2 separate regions of the Homo sapiens genome follow, and region 1 is linked to region 2. Evidence: promoter capture Hi-C in 16 types of primary human blood cells and fetal thymus (Javierre and others, 2016). All regions are on one chromosome and are shown on one strand. The core of a region is centred on a gene start or on the middle of the fragment in contact, and the rest is flanking DNA. Distances in the headings are between cores, read along the strand shown. Region 1 overlaps LOC105373960 (a long non-coding RNA gene). Region 2 holds the start of PER2 (period circadian regulator 2).

Region 1 (5,661 bases), core at 1,921-4,420, 360 kb before region 2:
GATCCACCCACCTCGGCCTCCCAAAGTGCTGGGATTATAAGCGTGAGCCACCTCGCCTGGTCAAGAATGTATATTCTACCTCACACCATATGTGAAAATTAACTTGAAATGGGTCAAAGGCCTAGATGTAAGTTTAAAACTCTTAGAAGGAAACATAGGTATAAATCTTCATGACCTTGGGTCAGGCAATGGTTTCTTAAGTATGAAACCACAAGCACAAGCCACAAAAGGAACAAATAGATAAATTGGACTTCATCAAAACTTAAAACTTTTTTGCATCAAATGACTCCATCAAGAGAGTATTTCTGTGCAGCTGCTGAGGCAGAAAGAAAAAGAAAGTAAAAAGGCCAGGTGCAGTGGCTCACACCTGTAATCCCAGCACTTTGGGAGGCCGAGGCAGGCAGATTGCTTGAGCTCAGGGGTTTGAGACCAGCCTTGGTAACATGGTGAAACCCCATATCTACAAAAAATACAAAAATTAACCGGGCGTGGTAATGTGTGCTTGTAGTCTTAGCTACTCGGGAGGCTGAGGTGGATCACCTAAGCCCTGGAGGCGGAGGTTGCAGTGAGCCAAGATTACTCCATTGCATTCCAGCCTGGATGACAGAGTGAGACCCTGTCTCAAAAAAAAAAAATTATATATATATATATATATATATATATATATATATATGCCAGCACTCCTCAAAACTGTCAAGATCATAAAAACAAAAGAAGTCTGAAAAACTGTCACAGCCAAGAGGAACTCAAGGAAACATGACAACTGAATGTCATGTGGTATCCTGGATGGGCTCCTGAATATAAAAAGAATATTAGGAAAAAACTAAGGAAATAGGAATAAAATATAAGCTTTAGTTAACAATAATGCATTTGAATAGTGGTTTATTAATAGTAACAAATGTACCTTATTCACATAAAATGTTAGTGATAGAGTTAACAGTGTGGCGTATATGGCAGCTCTCTGTACTCTATTTGCAACTGTTCTGTAAATCTCAAACTGTTCTAAAATAAAATGTTATTTTAAAAAGATAAAAACAGTGGCTGTCCCTGTTCCATCAGTTTGGTGAGTCAGTGTCCCTGTAGGTTGTAGAATGAAAATACCCAACACTGAAATTCAAACGCAACACAGATGATTGTGGAGGTGGTTCAAAAGACAGTAATTTGAATATCAAAGTTTCTAGAGACGCACTGGAGAAAACCGATCAAGTACTTTTGCAAAAATGACCCTCTTTCTTGAGAAGGCCAAACACGCTGGGTAGGAGTTCACATGGAGCTGTCCAGCCTCCTGGCCGCTGAAACCCTGATCAATACTTGATGGATTCTTTGTTCTAGAATGGGCAGGTGGCACCAGGAAGATGATGGGTCTTCACCCCTGGAGCTGCACCAGAGCTCAACCTATGACAACCTGGCTCAGCCTATGACAACCTATGAACACCCTGTGCTCTTCCTAGGAAGGATCAGGAGAAACACCAGGACCCCAAACCCCCAGAGCTAAAAGATGGCACCAGGCTCTAAGTAGAAACCCATGGGATGAAGACCAAAGCCACTGATACCTCTGGCTCTCCCCAGGGAATTCCATGGTTACAGGTGTGCACCCCACACCTGATCCCACCAGAGGCTGGAAGAGGAAAGGGGCGGGATGGGGGCTAGGGGAAGTAGGCAGGTAGGGCAGGGCAGTCCATCTTTTGCAAGTAGCAATGGATCTCTCTCCAGGAGGCAGAGAACTAGCTCTGGGGCAGCCTCTTTCTGTGCTTTGGGAGATCCACTTTGAGGGTTACAAACCCTCAAAGCTGCTCCTACAAGTCTTCTTGGGCAAACTGGGACTTTGGCATGGCTGGCAGTGTTACCAAAACACCAGGAATTTGGTCTAGGTCCTAGTGCTTGCCACGCCCATCACTGAAACCACAATTATTGCCCTGGAAGAAGGCTTTAATTGGGTGCTGCAGCCAAGGATTTGGGGTATACGTCTCAAATCCATCCCGACTGACTACAGTTAGGGGTTGGTACAGCAGAAACGTAACCACATGCAGGAAAGCAGGAATTAGGGAGGGGTAAGGAAGAGGAGTCAGTTAACAGGGAGCAGGTGGCCAGTTAGGCAGTCATCAGAGGTGAGGGGTTTGGCTTCTCATTGTCCAAATGCAGTGACTGGTGAGTTTCAGCTTCTTGATACTATCTGGGAGGCCAGCTGCTTGGTCTCCTGAGAAAGGAGCTCAGAAAAAACAAACATAACTTTCTCAAATTTCAAGACTGGGAGGCGCAATTTCTATGTTTACTCAAAATAAACTATAAACATCAGTCTTGATTTGTTTTGTTTTGTTTTGAGACAGTTTCACTCTGTTGCCCAGCCTAGGGTGCAGTGACACCGTCTTGGCTCGCTGCAACCTGGGTTCAGGTGATTCTCACGCCTCAGCCTCCCAAGTAGCTGGGATTACAGGCGCACACTACCACACCTGGCTAATTTTTTTTAGTTTTTGCATTTTTAGTAGAGACGGGGTTTCGCCATGTTGGCCAGGCTGGTCTCGAACTCCTGGCCTCAAGCCCACCTCAGCCTCCCAAAATGCTGGGATTACAGGCGTGAGCCATTGCACCTGGCCTATAAACATCAGTTCTATGGGACAATCGGGTGGGTTTCGGCAGGAGCCTTCCAGGTTCTGGGGTGTAATTGACAGGGACTTGGCTTTGTCACCACAGAAAGTGAGAGTCGATAGCTTCAGCTGTGCATGAATTGAGACCATCTTGACCTTGAACCGAGGCTTTTTCTAGAAGATCATTTGAATGTTTTTTCCTGGGCGGGTGAGGCAGGGAACCACGCATCCACCAGTACAAAACACAATCACGAACTAACAAGCACAGCGCAGATCTGTAAATACTGATGTGGAATTAACCCCACAAAATTCTGTTAGGTGAAAGGAACATAAAAATAATCGAATTTGTCCACTGAAATTTTCTAGCAGGTCAAACGAGAAACAACATTGGTTGACTCAGAGGAAAGTTACTGGGGTACTGGTTAGGAAGGAAATTTGTGTATCCTCTTTTTTTGTTGTTTTTGCTGAGATGGGGTCTCCCTCTGTTGCCCAGGCTGGAGTGCACTGGCACAATCTCAGCTCACTGCAACCTCTGCCTCCTGGGTTCAGGTGATTCTTGTGCCTCAGCCTTCTGAGTAGCTGGAATTACAGGTGCATACCACCATGCCCATCTAATTTTTGTTTTTGTGTGTTTTTTTTTTTTTTTTTTTTTTTTGAGACGGAGTCTCACTCTGTCGCCCAGGCTGGAGTGCAGTGGCATTATCTTGGCTCATTGCAAGCTCCGCCTCCCAGGTTCATGCCATTCTCCTGCCTCAGCCTCCCAAGTAGCTGGGACTACAGGTGCCTGTCACCACGCCCAGCTAATTTTTTTCCATTTTTTAGTAGAGACGAGGTTTCACCGTGTTAGCCAGGATGGTCACGATCTCCTGACCTCGTGATCTGCCCTCCTCGGCCTCCCAAAGTGCTGGGATTACAGGCGTGAGCCACCACGCCCCGCCTTTAATTTTTGTATTTTTTAGTAAAGACAGGGTTTTGCCATGTTGGCCAGGCTGGTCTCAAGCTCTTGGCCTCAAGTGACCCACCCACCTTGGCCTCCCAAAAGTGTTGGGATTATAGGCATGAACCACCATGCCCGGCCACGTTACGATTTTTAAAGTCTAACCTAACCAAACTGTCAGAAACTTAAAATGACAACACTTTCATTCCAATTAATTGTACTAGAATGTTCCAAGCAAATATCCCCTTCCTTCCCCAGGCCAGGGCCCAGCCATGCCTCCCACTCCTCCAGGCTGCTGGGCTAGTTGCTGGGTCCTGGGGTGGCCCACAGGGACTTTGCCTACTGTAATTTCCACCAGCACCCCCAAGCCACCCCAGCTAAACACACAATTGAAGTACAAATAGCATGTTCACCATCTGAAGACGAGTCACCTATTTTCTGCTTCCAACTGGACTGTGTTCTCAAGACCCCCTGCATTCATTTATATCGCTGGGTAACATATTTCCCGGCTGGTGAGAAGTCCCGGCGTGGCCCAGCTATGTCCTCTGAGATGGCAGGGTCTCATGAGGCTGTCACCAGGTGTCCGCTGGGTCACATCCTCCTCTTGCAGATGCAGGAGGCAGACACATGCCTAGGCAGATGGGGCAGAACCCCAGTGAAACCCTACCTCCAAGACAAAGACAGTTTAAAACCTGAAAGCCAAGCTACAAGTCAAATCCACGGACCAGATTGAGAACCCGTCTTCCCGTTTGGTGCACTTTCCTCTGATTGATCCCCACCCTTCACCTATTTTACAGAAACCTACCCTACCCTAATTGGTTTTTTACACTGTCATGCCCACCTTTGAGCAGTGCCTTTGTTTTAACCTTTTTTGCATACTCACAAACCAATCAGCACACACTCCCCATTCTGAGCCTATAAAATCCCAGACCCAGCCACACTGAAGGAGAGACCACCCAACTTAGAGTGGAGGACAACCCTTGCATCCCCTCTCCACTGAGAACTTTTCCATCACTCAATACAGTTATTATCTGCCCTCCTCATCCTTCGATGGTCAGGGTAACCTCATTCTTCCTGGACATGAGACAAGAGTTCAGGAACCACCAAATGTGGGTAGGAGCTATAACACAGGCAGGCTGGGGCACACATGGCCCAGCTACGGGCTGAGCTGGTGCACAAGCTCAGTGCAGCCCAGTGGACTGAATGGGTGGGGCATGTGACCAAGGGGCCCTGGCTTTTGCTGGCCTCTGACTGAAGGTCCCCCTCAGGTCCTTGTTAGTGGTTTTTTGTTAGGTGAACTTATAACATAACACGGTCCTTATTTCATCAAGCCAGGAAGGAGAATCTCCAATGTGTGCTGGTAAGATGGAGGCTTGTCTAGGTATCTATAGTAACTCAGTCATGGGAGTGACATCCTGTCACCTGTGCTATATTCTACTGGTTATAAGCAAGTCACAGGTCCCACTCACACTCAAGAGGAAGGGATTATATAGGGCATGAACCCTAGGGTCTTTCTGCCATACCCTCCCACAGGGAGATTTTTGAGCTGGCACTGGCAGGGCCCTGGGGAGGAGTTATGGGATGCTACACTGCCAGGAGCAGAGGAACTGTGCAGGGTTTGTGCCCTCACAGGCACTCAGATTCACAGTGACTGGCCCAGAAAGACGAAAGGCATTTAACATGGTAAAGCCACAGGGCTGTACCTAATGGGACCTTTTGCCATGTGCCATTATGTGTGATGTTAACGGTGGCCCTGAGTTGTGCAGCGCACACCTGCGCAACTGTTTGCAGCAGCCCGGACCCCCACCTGTGGATGAGAGGCTTCTTCAGAGCACTGCCTCGCTGATGATCATTATCTGGTCGGACTCCAGTTCCACCAACAGACCATATGTCTGTGCAGCTGAGTTTACTTTACACTACATCCTCTTTTCCAGCTATTCTGTGACTTCTCAGTTCCTCAAACACACCCGAAGCTTGAAATATTTTCTCTGGAACTTTTGGCTCTGGTTTTACCCTCTGCAATTCAAAACTCACAGCCTCTCAGAGTTTGTTTATTTTCTTACACTGCTGGGTGAGTCTCTAGAAACGAAATATCAAAGCCAGCTGGAGTCTCAAATGAGAATCCTGATTATTCCAGAG
Region 2 (5,894 bases), core at 1,544-4,043:
TACAGCATGTACTGTCTCTGCAAGCCCTGCAGGATTTTACAACCCCAAATATTCTAACATGTTTTCTACTTCCTGGTAGGAGCCAACTCCCTGAGGCCAGCCTGCTGTAATCCTGAGAAAATGTTTGTCCTGCTAAATAAACAGCCGCACTCTCCATGGCAACGGTTGGGTAACTGAGGAAAATGTGACCGCAGCCATCCAAATATGGAGGGAAGGAGGTGCACCGGGGAGGCATTGTCTTGGCCTCACTAGGACACCTTCAATGATCTCAATTCAGACTTTTAAATCCCTACATTTTTAGAACTACAAGACTTTAAAGCAAATAAAGGCAAAAGTGTCAGCCTCCTAGCTCCCCGGTGGTCAGGGACTGAGCTACTCCGAATTGCAGGAAGCTCAGGCATCTGCTCCTCCTGTACCTGGTTTCTTAAAGAGTGGATTCTGATTCCTCTATGTCACCCCAGGAAGAGCACGAGGAACCCTTCGAGGCCGGTGAGGGTTCAGCACGGCAGCTCACTCTGTCTTGGGAACTACCAGTCTCTGAAAACCAAGTGGCCTTGACTCCTGTCACCAGTCACTGCTATTCATTTACTGCTTCTAATTTGCTCTAGACTTGGAGATATGGTAACAAACTTGTTACAAATGTGTACACGATGAGCATAATGAGTTGAAAGGAGGGCCTGGTCCCTAGGGGGGAGTGCGTGGGCTGGGGGAGGGGTCCATCAGAGGCCCCCTCTAGACTAATTCTCCCTTGGTTCCCAAGGTGGGCCAGCTTTCCAGAAGTGTGGCGACAGTCTCTGCCAAGCTTATGGAATTGTGTGTTTCTGGCTCCCTCTGCCAAACAGAGTAGTTTTCAAAAGGTAAAAGCACACCCAGAGCCTGTCTTTCTTCTGACTAAACGCCAAGTGGCCCTGCCAGCTGTTCAATGACCTGACAGAGCCGTGGTTTGCCGAGTCCTGGTGAAGTTACATCATCGCTTAAAAACAGCAGTGTGACTACCAGTATTTTTGAGAAAGTTCAGTGGGTACGAGAAGTAGTGCACAGGAGAGGAATCTTTCCTTTTTCCTTGTAAGCACTGCAGACGTGGCTCACAGGAGAACATTACTTGGCCCAAAGGCAAGAGCATATCAGAAGCCTCTGTCTCCTGCGAGAAACCTGGGAAAAATCATCTGTAGGGTAACAGAAAACCAAAAACCTGGGAATTAAAGTAGACCTCTGAGACTGCCCAATCTGAGCCCCTCCAAACAAACAAGGAAACTGAGGCCCAGACTGGGAGCCAGCAGCAGCCAGCTGGCTGACACAGGGCTCCCCCTTCCCACCTGGCACTCCAGTCTCCACAGAAAGCCAGGGCTGCGTTAGTTCTGTACCAATGAATCATACCAAGGCGACAGTGACAGATAACTGCAAACACCCACGGTGCCATCCCCGCGCTGGCACACCACACAGCTTCCACTCAAAAAAAACGGAGTCCCTTTCTTCATTATAGTCATATAGCACACAAAAATCAATTCACCTTGTATTTTAAAACTCAATTTCCAAATAAAGCCTTCAGGTAGAGTCCTGTTTTCTTCTCAGGCACACCCAGCCTGGGACCAGAAGCCCCAGGTGGGGGTAGAGGGTGGGCCAAGAAGTCTAGCAGTCCTGCTGTGCCATATACAGGTGAGAGGCGTCCATGTGGGGCTTTAGCCACCGTGTGGGGTTCTTAACACATTTCCCGGACTTAAGGCCCTTCCTCCCAAATTCCAGCCCACCCAGGATTCAGCACGCAAGTGGAGGCCATCACTGAACCTCTGAAGCTCATCCTGCCCCAGGACGATGGGAAGATCCTGCAGACAGCCTGGGCCTGGGCCTCAGTTTGCTCATCTGTCAGGCTGAGGGGTTACTCTGGGTGATTTTCAGGGTGCCTTCTGGCTCTGTTGTTCTGTATGAATCAGCTTTCCAAACGGGTTCCTTCTGTGTAGGTTACAGAAACCCTGGCAACCAACTCGTCATCCCTTACCCTGGCCTTCCTGAAGGGGGAAGCAGGCCACCTCCCACCCCCTGGTCTATGTCTGGGACTTGGCAGCCAAAGTACATCCCAGAAGGTAGGCGCGACTGCTGCACCAAAGAGTGGACACCCCCATTCCCTTCTATCCAGTCCGGGGAAAGGGAATTAATACAGGGTGGTCCAGGGGAGGCAAAGGGGCGAACATTAGAGGGTCTCCCCGCCCTCAGGTTCCCAGGCCTGGCTTGGCACCGGGACTTCCTTGTCCCTCTGATCACCCATTCCAGGAGACCCGTGGGTGTCCAGGAAAAGCTCCTAGATCAGCGCCCCTCCATGGCCCTTCCCCAGCCCAGGACTTAGCCCTGTGGCCTCAGAAGAGGCAGTCAGCTCCCCGAGGGTCCTCCAGATCCCAGGGCCGGCTGCGCTGACCCTTGGTTTCCTTGGCCTTCCCCATGCGAGGGGAGGGAGGGTTCCCAAAAGAGAATCGCCCACGGAACCGCAGCCCGCGCGCAGTCACTCGGTAGCTCGGTGCCCTACACACGCTGCCTCACCTTTCGGACCTCAGGCTCCTGAGCTGCGAAGCGGGGGTTCGAGTCCCCAACCCTCGGTGTCACCGCAGTTCAAACGAGCGCACCCTGCGCGCGGCTCGACCACTCTCCACCTGGGACAGGGCCAAGGGCACACGCCCCCACGCCGGCGCCGTTTCAAGCCGAGGAGTCCAGCAGCCCAAGGAACTTCCGGCGGCGCCTCCGCTGCCCGAGCCGGCGCTGGGACCCCGACCTGCCCGAGGCCCGCGCGCCGGCGGCGGTTACGTAAGCCGCAGCGGGGCCGCGCCGCGCCACTTACCGCCGGCCGCGCCCGCGTCAGCCCGTCCGCCGGTCCCTCCGCCGACTCGCGGCTCTGTCCGCCCGGCCCCGCGCCCGCCGCCGCCGCCCACAGCTGCACGTATCCCCTCAGCGCCGCCGCCTCCGCCGCGGCCGAGTCGCCGCTGTCACATAGTGGAAAACGTGACCGCGCGCGCCGCGCCCGCCCCCGGCCTCCGCCATTGGCCGCGACTCCGTCTCATCTGCATACATGAGGGGCGGGGCCTACGAACGCCGCGCGCCCATTGGTGGCCGCGCCCGTCGCTCTTTTTACATAAGACGCACATGGAACTCCATGTTCACCTCGTCGGTTCCTCAATGGAGACGCGGCGCGTTCGTGCTACCCGTCGTCCTCCCTAGTGGTCTCATCCACTTCCGGCGTCGGCGCCTTCCATTCACTACGCCCTCAAGCCCGCCAGCTCGGGGAGCGCGGAGTGGCGCGTACCATTGCGGGCGGGGGAGCTGGGCGCGGGGCTCCTGCGCACCTCCGGCCGGCCTGGCAGACCCGGCGCGCCGAAGCCGGACGAGGGAGACCTCCACCTCCGGCCACCGGCCAGAGGCGCGCCCCCAGCGGCCAGGGCCGCGGGAAAGTCCGCGCGGCATGCTTCATTCACGCATTCACATTCATTCATTTACTCATTCACTCACTCATTCATCGCGGGGCCCCGGAGCAGCCCAGGAGAAGGTGGCAGCACCGCCCTGCAGCAGCTCCGGGGGCACGCCCACCCGGGCCTCTGAGGTGCCTGTGGTCGACACTTGTCCCGGCAGCTACCAAGTGACCTTTCTTATTTTTGAGACCACGTGTTGCAATTTTTGGTTCAGGAAATAGAGTCATTGTTACTCTGGGGAGGTACAAAAGAAAGAAATGATGTTGTCCCTGCCCCCAAGCGCATCACTAGGGAGAAAGGACTATCTCATAAAAAGGAAACTTAATCAAATGCTAAATTGGGCGATGTGGGCTATAAATTAACCAGAGCTATCCCCACAGGCTCCGTGAGAAAGGCAGCACTTCCAAGGCGGGTAAGATGGGCCCTGAGAAAGGGACGCCTTACAACGGTGCAAGCCGTAGAGACGCAGGAGCCAGGGGTAGGAGGTTGTCCTGGGAGACAGCGCGGGACCCTGCATCACCTTGTTTCGGTAAGCATTGTGTGGGGCATGTGGAGCCTCTAAACTTCCATTTAAAGTGTCAGGAGAAAGAGTACAATTTCCCCGGGTCTGGGTAGAAGCCTGAGACTTACAGGACAGGAAGGAGCTTTCAGGCTCCCACGCAGCAGGCTCTGAATGTGTAGGCTCTCATGGGGAAGGCGAGACTGTCCAAGAAGCTGGAGCCCGCAGCATCTCTCTTTACTCTTCTTGTTCTTCTTTACCTGGACTCACCTGGGGACCAGGGATGGGACAGAAGGAAAAGTTATGAACCCACATCAGGAATTCCTGAGTGTGATAACTCCTTCTCTTCTACTTGACAAGGTGTGTGTGCAACTTCTCAGATGCAAACCAGGGCAAATACCAAGTTCATCGGGGCAGCCCTTCCCACAGAAGCCCCGGGAGGCCTGCATGCTGTTCACACACTCAGTCAGGTGGCCCCTCCTCCTGTTCCTCTGACATTGACACCTCGACACACTCCCCGCCCCCTCTCCCTAACACATACACACACAAATGCCAAGCAAACCCAGGCCCGGCTGCTGCGCCCTGCACACACCCAAAGGCTCTTTTGTTTCTTCCCTCCCATTGACGTCAATGGGGAGCTCCATTGTTCTGGAAACAAGAGTAAACAGACAGCTCATCCACACCTTACCGAGATTCTTCTTCATGCTTTTGCTGGGTCTTGCTCCATATTCAGCCTGCTACCTGATGTCACATTTCCTCCCTAAATGTAGCCTTTTTTATTTCCACCAATAAATCTGGTAGAAATATATTGAAATCAATTCTTTTAGAAATTATCAAGTGCTTTGGGCTCTAGGACTCTTCAGAATCTCATCTATTTTCAGTGATTCACAGCCAGTTTCTTCTTTCCTATTATTGGAAATTTGTGTACACTCCACAAATACTTGTTGACACCTGAGTGTTGAGGGGCATGCAAAAATACATCTCACTGCATCCCTGCTTGTAAGGAGTTGGTGATGTAGAAGGGGGGAGGAGGCAGATTCAGAGGCAATTTTGTCTAAGTTGTGGTGTGTAGGTCCTGAGGGAATAGGACAGCCATGGACAGAAGCCTCCATCCCAGCTCCAACAGAGGACAGCGCTCAGGGGATGAGCTCCTACAATCAGGCCAAGTGCATGGATGCCATTCTTGCTGAACCAAGATGGTGACAGAGAGAGAGCGCAAATTGGGGCAGTCAGATTGGAGAAGGAAGGGGGATGAACCCTTTCCTAGCCAGCCCACACTGGCCAGCTGTCACCTCCAGCACGGAGCTCAGAGCTCTTGGATAGGGGAATTGCTGTTGGCACTGTGGGAGGCAGGCTGGCTAGGAGACAGCTAGTCCTTTAGTTGGGGGTGGAGGTGGAGTGGTAAGCCAGGGTCCCCACCTACCTTGGGAATGCTGCCAGTGGGAGGAGCTGGCCTCCCAGCTAAAGGCTGCTTGGCCCCTGCTCCACCCACTCCCACCAGCCTGTTTCCACCAGTAAGCCTGGCCCAAGTTGGCCCACCCATCTATGTCTGGGCCTGCCTGTAGGGCCTCTCTGCACCCAGGCCTCCATGCCCTTGCCAGTCCACTCACTGGCCCTCTCATTCACTCATGCACCCAGCCAATTGTTTACTGAGCAACTACTATGTACCAGGCAACTGTGCTGATCACTGCTTCCTCTCATTGTAGGTGGCATGGTTTGCGGGTTGGCTAGCTGGAGGGCCAAAGGACAGGCGGCTAGGAAGAGAATTCCCTCTGCAAATGGAGGAGGTGGTGGCCAGCAAAGTCTCTCTAAAGAGATGGAGGGGACACTGTCAAGCTTTCTGGCCCCCTAGTGCTGGAGCCCCTTTCTTGGGCCTAGGGACATTGGAGATGATAATGCCCAACCCTTACTCTCCAGCCTCCCTTGAACCCAGCGCTGACCTA

The links. The method cuts DNA at HindIII sites, captures the fragments that hold promoters and counts their contacts. A CHiCAGO score of 5 or more calls a contact.
Region 1: a fragment that was not itself captured here is called in contact with the fragment with the promoter of PER2 in region 2 in 2 of 17 cell types (fetal thymus and neutrophils); the score reaches 6.9 in fetal thymus.

The regions. Positions count from the first base shown.
Region 1 is chr2:237,926,081-237,931,741 of GRCh38, forward strand. All of the region lies in intron 1 of LOC105373960 (a long non-coding RNA gene), which reads right to left. Among named protein-coding and RNA genes, the nearest start is that of UBE2F-SCLY, 38 kb to the right of the region's middle. The HindIII fragment of the contact is 4,646 bases long and covers 848-5,493 here.
Region 2 is chr2:238,285,817-238,291,710 of GRCh38, forward strand. PER2 (period circadian regulator 2) reads right to left here and starts at 2,794. Exons shown (of 23, transcript NM_022817.3): 1 at 2,533-2,794. It overlaps LOC112268433 (a long non-coding RNA gene), which reads left to right and starts at 2,053. Exons shown (of 3, transcript XR_002959458.2): 1 at 2,053-2,081. RefSeq lists enhancers at 1,732-2,254, 2,339-3,233, 4,308-4,357 and silencers at 2,782-2,931, 3,272-3,541. The HindIII fragment of the contact is 4,985 bases long and covers 801-5,785 here.